2 separate regions of the Homo sapiens genome follow, and region 1 is linked to region 2. The links are contacts of gene promoters, found by promoter capture Hi-C in blood cells and fetal thymus (Javierre and others, 2016). All regions are on one chromosome and are shown on one strand. Each heading gives the region's core, a stretch centred on a gene start or on the middle of the fragment in contact. The rest is flanking DNA. Distances are from core to core; before and after follow the strand shown.

Evidence for each region. Contacts are between HindIII fragments. The CHiCAGO score rates a contact against its expected background, and 5 or more counts as called.
Region 1: the fragment with the promoter of HAGH here is called in contact with a fragment that was not itself captured in region 2 in 3 of 17 cell types (naive CD8 T cells, M1 macrophages and erythroblasts); the score reaches 16.2 in naive CD8 T cells.

What each region holds. Positions count from the first base shown.
Region 1 is chr16:1,823,347-1,829,263 of GRCh38, forward strand. HAGH (hydroxyacylglutathione hydrolase) reads right to left here and starts at 3,479. Exons shown (of 9, transcript NM_005326.6): 1 at 3,366-3,479. The coding sequence starts at 3,441. It overlaps FAHD1 (fumarylacetoacetate hydrolase domain containing 1), which reads left to right and starts at 3,860. Exons shown (of 1, transcript NM_031208.4): 1 at 3,860-5,564. The coding sequence starts at 3,893. The coding sequence ends at 4,558. RefSeq lists enhancers at 556-625, 3,890-4,079 and a silencer at 2,830-3,799. The HindIII fragment of the contact is 18,325 bases long and covers 1-5,917 here.
Region 2 is chr16:338,250-344,234 of GRCh38, forward strand. The region is part of intron 2 of AXIN1 (axin 1); the gene reads right to left. Among named protein-coding and RNA genes, the nearest start is that of AXIN1, 11 kb to the right of the region's middle. RefSeq lists enhancers at 1,209-1,933, 3,216-3,767. The HindIII fragment of the contact is 169 bases long and covers 3,691-3,859 here.

The DNA of each region.
Region 1 (5,917 bases), core at 2,229-4,728, 1.5 Mb after region 2:
AAGCTCCGCCTCCCAGGTTCACGCCGTTCTCCTGTCTCAGCCTCCTGAGTAGCTGGGACTACAGACGCCCGCCACCATACCCGGCTAATTTTTTGTATTTTTTAGTAGAGACGGGTTTCATGGTGTTAGCCAGGATGGTCTCGATCTCCTGACCTTGTGATCCGCCCACCTCGGCCTCCCAAAGTGCTGGGATGACAGGTGTGAGCCACCGCGACCAGCCAAGACCTTGTCTTTGCAAATTTAAAAATTAGCCAGGCATGGTGGTGCATGCCTGTGGTCCCAGCTACTCCGGAGGCTGAGGCAGGAGGATCACTTGAGCCCAGGAGTTTGAGGCTGCAGTGAGCTATGACTGTGCCACTGCACTCCAGCCTGGGTGACAAGACAATAACCTGTTCCTTAAAAAAAAAAAAAAAAAAAAAAAAAAAAAGGAATATCTTCATATATCCCTGAGGAGAACACAGGAACTAACTCATGCTCACATTCATGGAAATCAATTGTTTCAGACTTACGATCTCTATTTTCTTTTTTGAGAACTCTAAAAGGACAGGAAGGCCAGCTTGTGATTGTGAGGCGAACCACTGCCAGTGCTGGATTATTCACACCCCGGACTCAGGGACAGAATGTGAAGAAGGGAACACAGACTAGGGGTGCCCCCGCCTGGCCATCTGCCCTCCAGCAAGCTGTGCTGCCACCACTGACTAAGCGAGCCTGCGTTCCATGCAGTTACAGCCCTTCTCAGCCTCTAGCCAGAAAGAACCAATACTTGACGGCAGGCTGAGGCAGGAGAATTGCTTGAATCCGGGAGGTGAAAGTTTCAGTGAGCCAAGATCGCCCTACTGCACTCCAGCCTGGGCAACAGAGTGAGACAGTCTCAAAAAAAAAAAAAAACAAACAAACAATACTTGCTCTTGAACAGCACGAATCTGAGATATGCACAAAAATCAGCAGTTCCTTTGAGACGGAAAGTTGGCCACAACTGCCCCCAGATTCAAGTGTGGAGGACACAAAACCACCATCCAACTGACCCAAAGGACTCTGCCACAGGGGCCCAGAAGGCCCAAGAGCTGGGAGGAGTGGGTGACCAAGGGACAAAAGTGTCTGCCACCCAGTCGACCAATGCAAAAATATTTTCAGCAATGAAACTCCTACTAAATCTAAAAATACCTGGGGGCCCCGACAATACCTTCAGTTCCGCTCTACACGGGGAAGAAACCACAGAAGGTGGCAGAGGACAGTGCAGTCCTGGGGTAGGTGCCACGGCAGGGGCTTCTCCCAAAAGGGATCCAGAAATGGGCAGCAGCCACCAACTGACAGACACACGCGTCTCCAGGGCCCACCGAAATGCGGAATCCGACCTTATTTCCACAGCCGGGGAAACTGCCCAAACTATAGTTTCAATCACTGCACAAAGATATCCTATTACCCGCCTGACAACCAGCTGGGCATTTTCCAGATCATTCTCCTCAGGAACAATAATACCAAGATTTCTATATGAGCAGCTTCCTGTGTTATTCCCCTTCCCCTTAGCCTCAGCACCACCCCAGCCCAAGGAGCACAACAAGCAGAGTGTGGGTGCTGGGGGCTGCAGGTGGGGTGCAGAAGGGTTGTGACAGGATTCCGAGTGCCGGGCGTCCTCCTGGAAAGGAGCTCCATTACAAACAAGGAGCAGAACATTACAAACAAAAATACTGCCCACGTGCGGTGGCTCACGCCTGTCATCCCAGCACTTTGGGAGGCCGAGGCGGGCGGATCGCGGGGTCAGGAGTTCGAGACCAGCCTGACCAATATGGTGAAACCCTGTCTCTACTAAAAAATACAAAAATTAGCTGGGCGTGGTGGCGAGCGCCTGTAGTCCCAGCTACTCAGGAGGCTGAGGCAGGAGACTCGCTTGAGCCCGGGAGGCAGAGGTTGCAGTGAGCCGAGATTGGCCACTGCACTGCCCAGGCGAAGAAAATGTCATTTACAACTGGTGCTCAGCCTCCCCTGGAGACCATCACAGCCTCCTGAAGAAGCTGACAACCCAGGGAGGTGCCTTTATTTCTGAGGAAAGACGCAGCTGGTGCCAACACCAGCAGAAACCGTATTCCCTTTCCATATCACTCAGCCCAGCACTGCCTGGCAAATGTTCCCGGCTTGCTGTTTTGTAACTGTAATACTTTGTACAAACAGGTCAAGGACCTGCAGCCTGGGGCCTGGACCAAGTCCAGAAACATGTTCGGTTTGGCCCCAAAAACAAAAAAAAATTGAGATATGGTCTCACTCTGTCCCCTAGGCTACAGTGCAGTGGTGCGATCAAGGGTCACTGCAGCCTCGACCTCCTGGACTCAAGCGATCCTCCCACCTCAGCCTCCAAAGTGACTGAGACTACAGTTGTGTGCCACCACGCCCGGCTGATTTTGTTTAGTTTTTGTAGCGATGAGGTCTCAACATGTTGCCAGGCTGGTCTGGAACTCCTGGACTCAAGCGATCCTCCCGCCTCGGCCTCCCAAAGTGCTGGGATGACAGGCGTGCGTCACTGCACTTCTTTTTTAAATCAGGAAGTTTCACAGCATCTTGCTTCCCTTGAACTGGGCGGCACCAAATACGGGGGCTGGGGCCTCCCTTAGAATGGGGTACGCACGCCCTGCCGATGCACACAGTCCCGCTGGAACTCTCTGCCTGGACCCTTATGAATGTCCCTAAAACTGTAATTCTGAGGACCTCAAAATCCATGTCCTTTCCTTAGCAATGGCGACATTCTACCCCCTGCAGAGCCTTGACAGCTTTCGGCGAGATCTGGAAACCGCCAGGGACGCCTCCCTGTCTGCGCCTCCGCCCGCCCAGTGCCCTGCGCTGCGCACCCGCCCGGGGCGCTGGCCTGGCCCGGCCGCGCGACCACCTCGGGCGAATGACACGCCGGGTCCCCAGACGGGGGCTCCGGCGCCGGGCGGGCAGCTCCACCACCGCAGGCGGCGCCGCGAGACCGCGGTCCTTGCAGCGGGGCAGCAGGTGCGGGGTGGGCCAGGCGTCCCGGGGCCCTGCCCGCTGCGCCTCAGAGCCGCGCCCCAGGCTCTCCTCGGCGCCGGCCCGGGCAGGACGCGATGCCCTGGAGGCGTCAGGGGCGCGGCCGGCCCAGCCCGAGCGTGGAGGCCGCGGCGGACGCAGGCCTGGCCCTGCTTACCTAGCGCTTTCCGCACCCGCGGCCCCGCGCCCGCTCCGCGCCAGCCTCAGCGCCTGCGCCGCCTCCGCTCGAGCCCGGCAGCGCGGCCTTAGGCACCTGCGCAACAGACACCGCGTCAGCGGTCGCCAAACGACGGCCCGGCGCCGCCCGCTGCCCGCCCCGCCAGGCCCGCGTCCCCCGGCCCGCACCGCCCCGCCGCACCCACCGAGGCCTCGGCGGGCGCAGGCGGCTCCCAGCGCGGCGAGGCTGCGGCGGCCGAGCAGCCCTCGGCCCACCACCATGACCCGGGCCGGGCTGGACTGCCGAGCTGCCCAGGACTGCAAAACACCGGCGTCGGCGCGTCGCAGCCAATCAGCGCCCGCCTCGCGCTGCCCTCAGCCAATCAGCGTCCACCTCGCACCGTCCGCCAACCAATCAACGCGCTCGCGCTCAACTTGTTTTGTCCGCGAGCCCCGACTGCCACGGGCCGGGAGACGGGCCTGGGAGCGGCGGCGGCGGCCCGAGAGCTGCGCCGGGAGAGCTGTGCCGCGAGCCTCCGCCTCTTTTTTGGCACCGCACAGTGGATCCCTGGAGGCCGAGCGCCACGCCGCCCGGGTACCCGGCAGATCGCGAGGTGGAACGGGCCGTCGCTGCGGGGGACAGCGTTCCGAGGCAGTTGGTCCTCTCCGGGATGCCGTAGGCATCAGCTGACCGGCCCAGCCCACGTGACTACAGGGGCACTTGATGGGAATCATGGCAGCATCCAGGCCATTGTCCCGCTTCTGGGAGTGGGGAAAGAACATCGTCTGCGTGGGGAGGAACTACGCGGACCACGTCAGGGAGATGCGCAGCGCGGTGTTGAGCGAGCCCGTGCTGTTCCTGAAGCCGTCCACGGCCTACGCGCCCGAGGGCTCGCCCATCCTCATGCCCGCGTACACTCGCAACCTGCACCACGAGCTGGAGCTGGGCGTGGTGATGGGCAAGCGCTGCCGCGCAGTCCCCGAGGCTGCGGCCATGGACTACGTGGGCGGCTATGCCCTGTGCCTGGATATGACCGCCCGGGACGTGCAGGACGAGTGCAAGAAGAAGGGGCTGCCCTGGACTCTGGCGAAGAGCTTCACGGCGTCCTGCCCGGTCAGCGCGTTCGTGCCCAAGGAGAAGATCCCTGACCCTCACAAGCTGAAGCTCTGGCTCAAGGTCAACGGCGAACTCAGACAGGAGGGTGAGACATCCTCCATGATTTTTTCCATCCCCTACATCATCAGCTATGTTTCTAAGATCATAACCTTGGAAGAAGGAGATATTATCTTGACTGGGACGCCAAAGGGAGTTGGACCGGTTAAAGAAAACGATGAGATCGAGGCTGGCATACACGGGCTGGTCAGTATGACATTTAAAGTGGAAAAGCCAGAATATTGAGTTATTTCTTAACAAGTTTCGAGAGAGAAGGGAGCAAGACAAGAGCAAGCAACGGCTATTAAATGTCACAATCCTTTAATTAGAAACCATTTATTGGCCGGACGCGGTGGCTCACGCCTGTAATCGCAGCACTTTGGGAGGCCGAGGCGGGCGGCTCACGACGTCAGGAGATCCAGACCATCTTGGCTAACAGGGTGAAACCCCGTCTCTACTAAAAATACAAAAAATTAGCCGGGCGTGGTGGCGGGCGCCTGTAGTCCCAGCTACTCTGGAGGCTGAGGCAGGAGAATCAATTGAACCCGGGAGGCGGAGCTTACAGTGAGCTGAGATTGCGCCACTGTACTCCTGGGCAACAGCGAGACTCCGTCTCAAAAAAAAAAAAAAAAAAAGAAACCATTTATTTTAAAAATGATTAGATTGCTATGCCTCAACTCATAGAAGATGAACCCTTCAAGAAAACGTGAAGTAGAACGGGTGGGCCAGAAATGAAAACAGGCAAGTAAAGTATTTCTTCGGAAAACATTTTATCAAACCAAATGTTAAAAAGACTTTCCTTTTGTAAAACTGGATTAGAGAAGACTTTTCAGTGGGTTATCTCTAGGATGATCAGTAGTTCAGCACTTAAAAACTGCAGAGAAAACTGAAAGTTATGTTCCAGATAACTTTCCGTTGTTTACCAAATTTTCTTAGATTTGGTCATCATCAGGAAGCATTTGTAAAAATAAAAATCTCCACAAATTACTGGCCCATCTCGGACTTGCTGAATCAATTTGATAGGATTAATCTCCAGTGAAGCTGTGTTTACAGGGCATTCCAAGTGATTCTTATCAGGAAATGTGAAAAACACTCCTGTACATAATCGGTTAATTTAAAATTTTACTTAATAAGTGAACAAGTAATGAAGATTTCACCTGTTTACTTAGGGTATCTACCCAGACCCATCGATTCTGAGTTCGGGAGATGATTTTGAAATTACTGTTTTCCAAATAAAGGTGCTCCCTTCTAAGTGGCTTACAAGGGTAATTTTTTTCCCCCCAGTAATGACGAGGAGGGATATTTCCTCCTTGTGGGGCTTCAGACCTTAGTCTTTGACCTTTGGCCTTCTGAGCACTGTGCTGTGTTAACACAGTTAATCAGCAACTGTACTTCCCAACCGGAGATAAGGAGGCTTTGTGGAAGTTGAATAGCCTGGGACTGCTGCTTTTGCTCTTGCCTGCACCCTCCTCTGAAAAAACATCCAGGCAAGATGCACAGCATAGCTGTCAATGCCTGGAGGAGTCCTTTGGGCTTCGGCAGGGGTTCCTGTTCGCGTTCACATCATCTGCTGGCCCCTGAAGAAAGCCTAGGACATCTGATTGA
Region 2 (5,985 bases), core at 2,525-5,024:
CTGGGGTGCCAGGCGGCCAGTCACGGCTAGGGCACAGTTCCAAGAAGGGCCACAGGGGCCCGCAGGGACACTTACCCCAAGCCCTCCAGAAACAGCTGCTGCAGGTCAGCACCAGCACCAGGGCCAGGCACACAGTCTCATCGGCACGTCTGCCACTGGCTGTCTGCAAAGTGCTTCCCTTTCACAACCCACCCACACAGCTCAGGACTGAGGTCCGCCCAGGCAAAGGGGCCTCTCGGTTCCAGAATCCTTTGGCCTGACAGGCAACTACAGATACTTTCGTGGACTCTGCTGAAACCTGTCTGAGACTATGGAGCTTTACGTGGCTAAGGAAGAGAAAAAATATGTTTGGAGTCCTTGCCCACTGACAGGTGCATAAAAATACAAGATGGACTGGGCACAGTGGCTCACGCCTATAATTCCAGCACTTTGGGAGGCCAAGGTGGGCGGACCACTTAAGGTCAAGATTTCGAGACCAGCCTGGCCAACATGGCGAAACCTTGTCTCTACTAAAAATACATAAAGTAGCCAGGAGTGGGGGCATGCACCTGTAATCCCAGCTACTCGGGAGGCTGAGACTAGAGAATCACTTGAACCTGAGAGGCAGAGGTTGCAGTGAGCTGAGATCGCGCCATTGCACTCCAGCCTGGGTGACAAGAGCGAAACTCCATCTTGGGGAAAAAAAAAAAAAGTGGGATGCAAGCTGGTGCTGTGGGGACAGAGTCCAGCAGAGCACCAGCAGAGTCCAGCAGAGTCTGGGATTACAGGCATGAGCCACCGTGCCTGGCCAGGAATCATTTTTAAAGTTTTCCTTGGACATCCACAAACAAAAAAAATTTCCCTTTGGGCAGGGTGTGGTGGTTCACACCTGCAACCCCTGCACTTTGGGAGGCCGAGACGGGCAGATCACTTGAGGTCAGGAGTTCAAAACCAGCCAGCCTGGTCTCAAAAAAAAAAAAAAAAAAAAAAAAAGGCCGGGCGTGGTGGCTCACACCTGTAATCCCAGCACTTTGGGAGGCTGAGGTAGGCGGATCACAAGGTCAGGAGATCGAGACCATCCTGGCTAACAAGGTGAAACCCCGTCTCTACTAAAAATACAAAAAAAAAAAAAATTAGCCGGGCGTGGTGACACGCGCCTGTAGTCCCAGCTGCTGAGGAGGCTGAGGCAGGAGAAGTGCTTGAACCCAGGAGGTGGAGCTTGCAGTGAGCCAAGATTGTGCCACTGCACTCCAGCCTTGGCGATAGAGCGAGACTCCATCTCAAAAAAAAAAAAAAAAAAAAAATTAGCCAGGCATGGCGGCAGGTGCCTATAATCCCAGCTACTGGGGAGGTTGGGGCAGGAGAACTGCTTCAACCTGGGAGGCGGAGGCTGCAGTAAGCCGAGATGGTGCCACTGCACTCCAACCTGTGTGACAGAGCAAGACTGTCTAAAAAAAAAAAAAAATTCTCTTCAGATCTGCTCAAACAGGGGAAGCAAATACCCCAAAGGAGACTAGAAACCCCCCACACCCAGGCAAGGGGAGCCCACGCAAGGGGCAGTATGGCTCACAAGCACCTCTGCCCCCTCTGCACCACAGCAGAGGTCCCCTTAACAAGACAAGCCTGGGGGCGACCCCACCCTGGGCCACACCCTTTGCACAGGAAGCAGAGTTCACCCTTGCAACACAGCCCCTCTGCAGCCGGGCACCTTCAACAGCACCACCGCCTGAGGTCCAACGGACATGGAAACCCAAAACCACTCCTCCACAGACAACTCTGTACACATTTTGGGCCCTTTCTTTTTCTTCTTCTTCTTCTTCTTTTTTTTTTTAACCATTTCTTCTCTTAACCTTTTAGGCCATTACCAGAAACACAGTCAATAAACTAATGAGCAGGTCCGACGGTTCCTCACGCACCCCTGCGGGAACCTGAACGGCAAGGGCTGGCTGCCCACCTCGAAAGGACCCACCGGTCCTCTGAGCAGCTCCAGGAACCAGCAGCCCAAGACAAGCCACCATGTTGCTCCTGCTGTGGACATGTCTGTTGTCCACTCTCTGGCCACAGCCACATTGACCAGCCCTATCCACAAGTGCATCACTGGACTGGCCCGGGAAGACACACGAAAATATCCAGGAAGACCCTGTCCCCAGTCATCAAGGAAGGTCAGGGCAGTCAACAGAAGGGGCCAGCGGCGAGGAGACTGCGGGCTTGACCAAGCGGACCTGGCAGGGGCATGCAAGGCCAGCCCTGAAGGCCACCTGGTGGGCCAAGCCACCCTGAAGGGAAGCAGAGCCTGAGCCCGCCAGCCAGGGAGTGCAGGCCCTGGGCCTCCCGCCCAACACTCAGTCAACAGCAGAACCTGCCTGCTGATCCACACCGCTGAAATGACGAGGTGAACCAGCCAGCTCTGTTCAAAGTTCCACTGACAATGGGAACAAAGACCCGAGGGTGCAGAAAGTGTTCCCACAGAGGCAGAGCGGGGGAGCCAGGGAGGAACCCCATGAAACCTTGGCCCAGGAGCTCAAAATGACAGTGGGTGAGTGGGACAAACACAGAAAAGGGCCAGGAATGGAGCTCTTTCCTAGGCTGAGACAAAGACCTAAGCAGAACACTTCACTTTCCTCAAATCAAGTATGTGAAACCACCACGCGGCTCACACACGGACCAACAAGGACCCGCACTCAGGCGTCCCACAGGGGAACTGGATGCCTGTGGCCGTGCTGGACCGCAGCAGCCCCACCGCAGGGGATGAGCGACTGTGGCAGAGATGCAGGCAAAGTAGCCTCCAGGACAGAGGGGTCAGCACCCGAGGGCTGGCCCTCCTGGCACGTTCCTCCACGCAAATTCCACCCCGGTGAGAGGTGACAGCGTGCTGGCAGTCCTCACAGCCCTCGCTCGCTCTCAGCGCCTCCTCTGCCTGGGCTCTCACTTTGGTGGCACTTGAGGAGCCCTTCAGCCCACCACTGCACTGTGGGAGCCCCTTTCTGGGCTGGCCAAGGCCGGAGCCGGCTCCCTCAGCTTGCGGGGAGGTGTGGAGGGAGAGGCGCGAGCGGGAACCGCGGCTGCATGCGCTTGCAGGCCAGCTGGAGTCCCGGGTGGGCGTGGGCTTGGTGGGCCCGGCACTCAGAGCAGCCGGCCAGCCCTGCCGGCCGCGGGCAATGAGGGGCTTAGCACCCGGGCCAGCGGCTGCGGAGGGTGTGCTGGGTCCCCCGGCAGTGCCGGCCCACCGGAGCTGCGCTCAATTTCTCGCTGGGTCTTAACTGCCTTCCTGCAGGGCAGGGCTCGGGAGCTGCAGCCCGCCATGCCTAAGCCCCCCACCCCCTCCGTGGGCTCCTGTGCGGACCGAGTCTCCCCGACGAGCGCCCGGTCCCATTGACCACCCAAGGGCTGAGGAGTGCGGGCGCACGGCACGGGACTGGCAGGCAGCTCCACCTGCAACCCCGGTGCGGGATCCACTGGGTGAAGCCAGCTGGGCTCCTGATTCTGGTGGGGACGTGGAGAACCTTTATGTCTAGCTCAGGGACTGTAAATACACCAATCGGCACTCTGTATCTAGCACAAGGTTTGTAAACACACCAATCAGCACTCTGTGTCTAGCTCAGGGTTTGTGAATGCACCAATCGACACTCTGTATCTAGCTACTCTGGTGGGGACTTGGAGAACCTTTGTGTGGACACTCTGTATCTAGCTAATCTGGTGAGGATGTGGAGAAGCTTTGTGTCTAGCTCAGGGATTGTAAACGCACCAATCAGCGCCCTGTCAAAACAGACCACTGGACTCTACCAATCAGCAGGATGTGGGTGGGGCCAGATAAGAGAATAAAAGCTGGCTGCGGGAGCCAGCAGTGGTAACTCGCTCGGGTCCCCTTCCATAGTGTGGAAGCTTTGTTCTTTCTCTCTTTCCAGTAAGTCTTGCTGCTGCTCACTCTTTGGGTCCACACTGCCTTTATGAGCTGTAACACTCACCGCGAAGATCTGCAGCTTCACTCCTGAAGCCAGTGAGACCACGAACCCACCAGAAGGAAGAAACTCCGAACACCTCCGAACGTCAGAAGGAACAAACTCCGGACAGGCCGCCTTTAGGAACTGTAACACTCACGGCAAGGGTCCGCGGCTTCATTCTTGAAGTCAGTGAGACCAAGAACCCACCAATTCCGGACACACCGGGACGACTAACCGGCTCTCCACAGGATATGCATCCCCTAACACGTGAGGCCTAAGCTCCAGGCCCTGCTGTGGTAGCAATGCTCACCAGCCGCCTGTTCAGTACCCACTCTCCTTTTCCCTTTGCATTACCCGCAGCCTTCCTTTGGAGGACTGCCCCCAGCTCCCCACTGGGGAGCAGCCGTCTGTCTGGGTGGAGAACCCACTTTCCTTCAGGAGTGACCCTGCTGCACAGCCCCCAGCGCACGCACCGTGACTGTGCTGAGACAGACGGGACACAGCGGCACACGTGCCCTCCTCAGAGCAACAGCGGGCCCATCCGTCAGAGCTGCGGGAAGCATCTGTAAACAAGGGAGCCCAGAGCCCAAGGTCACTGCAGCAGCCACCTCCAACACAAAGCCCACGAAGTCGCCCACCAGGCAGGCAAAGTCAGAATGGCACAAAGCAAAGGTGCCAGGCCCTAAGGCACACCTGAGGCTCTGCCTCAACAGTGCCCTTCAGGGTTGGGCTCAGGTGGGTGGGTTTCCACGACTTCCAACCTAGTGCACCCTCACCTACACCTGGCAGGACAAAGAGAATGGTCTAAATGTGAGGAACGCAGCCTGGACTTCATGCCCTGTCTGTGCTGACAAGCAACCATTCCAACATCAGAGATCTTCAAGCCACAAGGCTGCACCACAGGCCACCTCCCACAGAGAGGATTCAACCGCAGACACGACTCCCAAGCCCCAGGGTCCTCTGCCACCAGCAGCCCCAGAGCAGTCAAGTTAGGACCCAAACTGTGTAGACAGAGCTACACAAAATTAGACAGGAGAAGCCAATGTATCCCACTAATTTCATAGCAAAGGTTCCTTATTACAAATACAGCAAACCAAGGACAGACAGCAAAGCTACTGCTCGCAGCCAAGAACTGAAGAGTGGCTGGGAGGGAGGCACTGGGGTTCCAACAGTGGAAATCAGAACGGAGCTCATTTTCCTCCTGCAGCCCAGCCCTCAACTTCAGTCCCATCTTAAAAATAACCAGCCGGGGCCGGGCGCAGTGGCTCACACCTGGAATCCCAGCACTTTGGGAGGCTGAGGCGGGCAGATCTCTTGAGGAAAGGAGTTCGAGACCAGACTGGCCAACGTGGTAAAACCCCATCTCTACTAAAAATACAGAAAATTAGCTGGGCATGGTAGCTCACACTTGTAATCCCAGCTACTCGGGAGGCTGAGGCAGGAGACTCACTTGAACCCAGGAGGCAGAGGTTGCAGTGAGCTGAGATTGCACTACTGCACTCCAGCCTGGGCGACAGAGCGAGACTCCATCTCAAACAAAAAAACAAGCAAAAAAAATAACCAGCCAGGTGCAGTGGCTCCCACCCGTAATCCCAGCACTTTGGGAGGCTGAGATCACTGGAGTCCAGGAGCTCGAGACCATCCTGGCCAACGTGGCGAAACGCTGTCTCTACCACAAATACAAAAATTAGCCAGGCATGGTAGCACACACCTGTAATCCCAGCTACTCGGGAGGCAGGAGAATCACTTAAACCCAGGAGGCAGAAGTTGCAGTGAGCCGAGATAGCGAGATAGTGCTACTGCACTCCAGCCTGTGTGACAGAGCGAGACTCCATTTCAAAAAAAAAAAAAAGAAAGAAAGAAAGAAACTCTCAGTTTATACCAGGCTTACTCAACAGGATAACTTTGCGGCATATTGTGTCCTAAAATGCTTGCTAAATAAATACCACTTGGCTAAAGACAATGAACAAAAGGGAAAAAAGGCCGGGCGTGGTGGCCCACGTCTGTAATCCCCGCACTTTGGGAGACTGAGGCAGGCGATCACGAGGTCAGGAGATCGAGACCA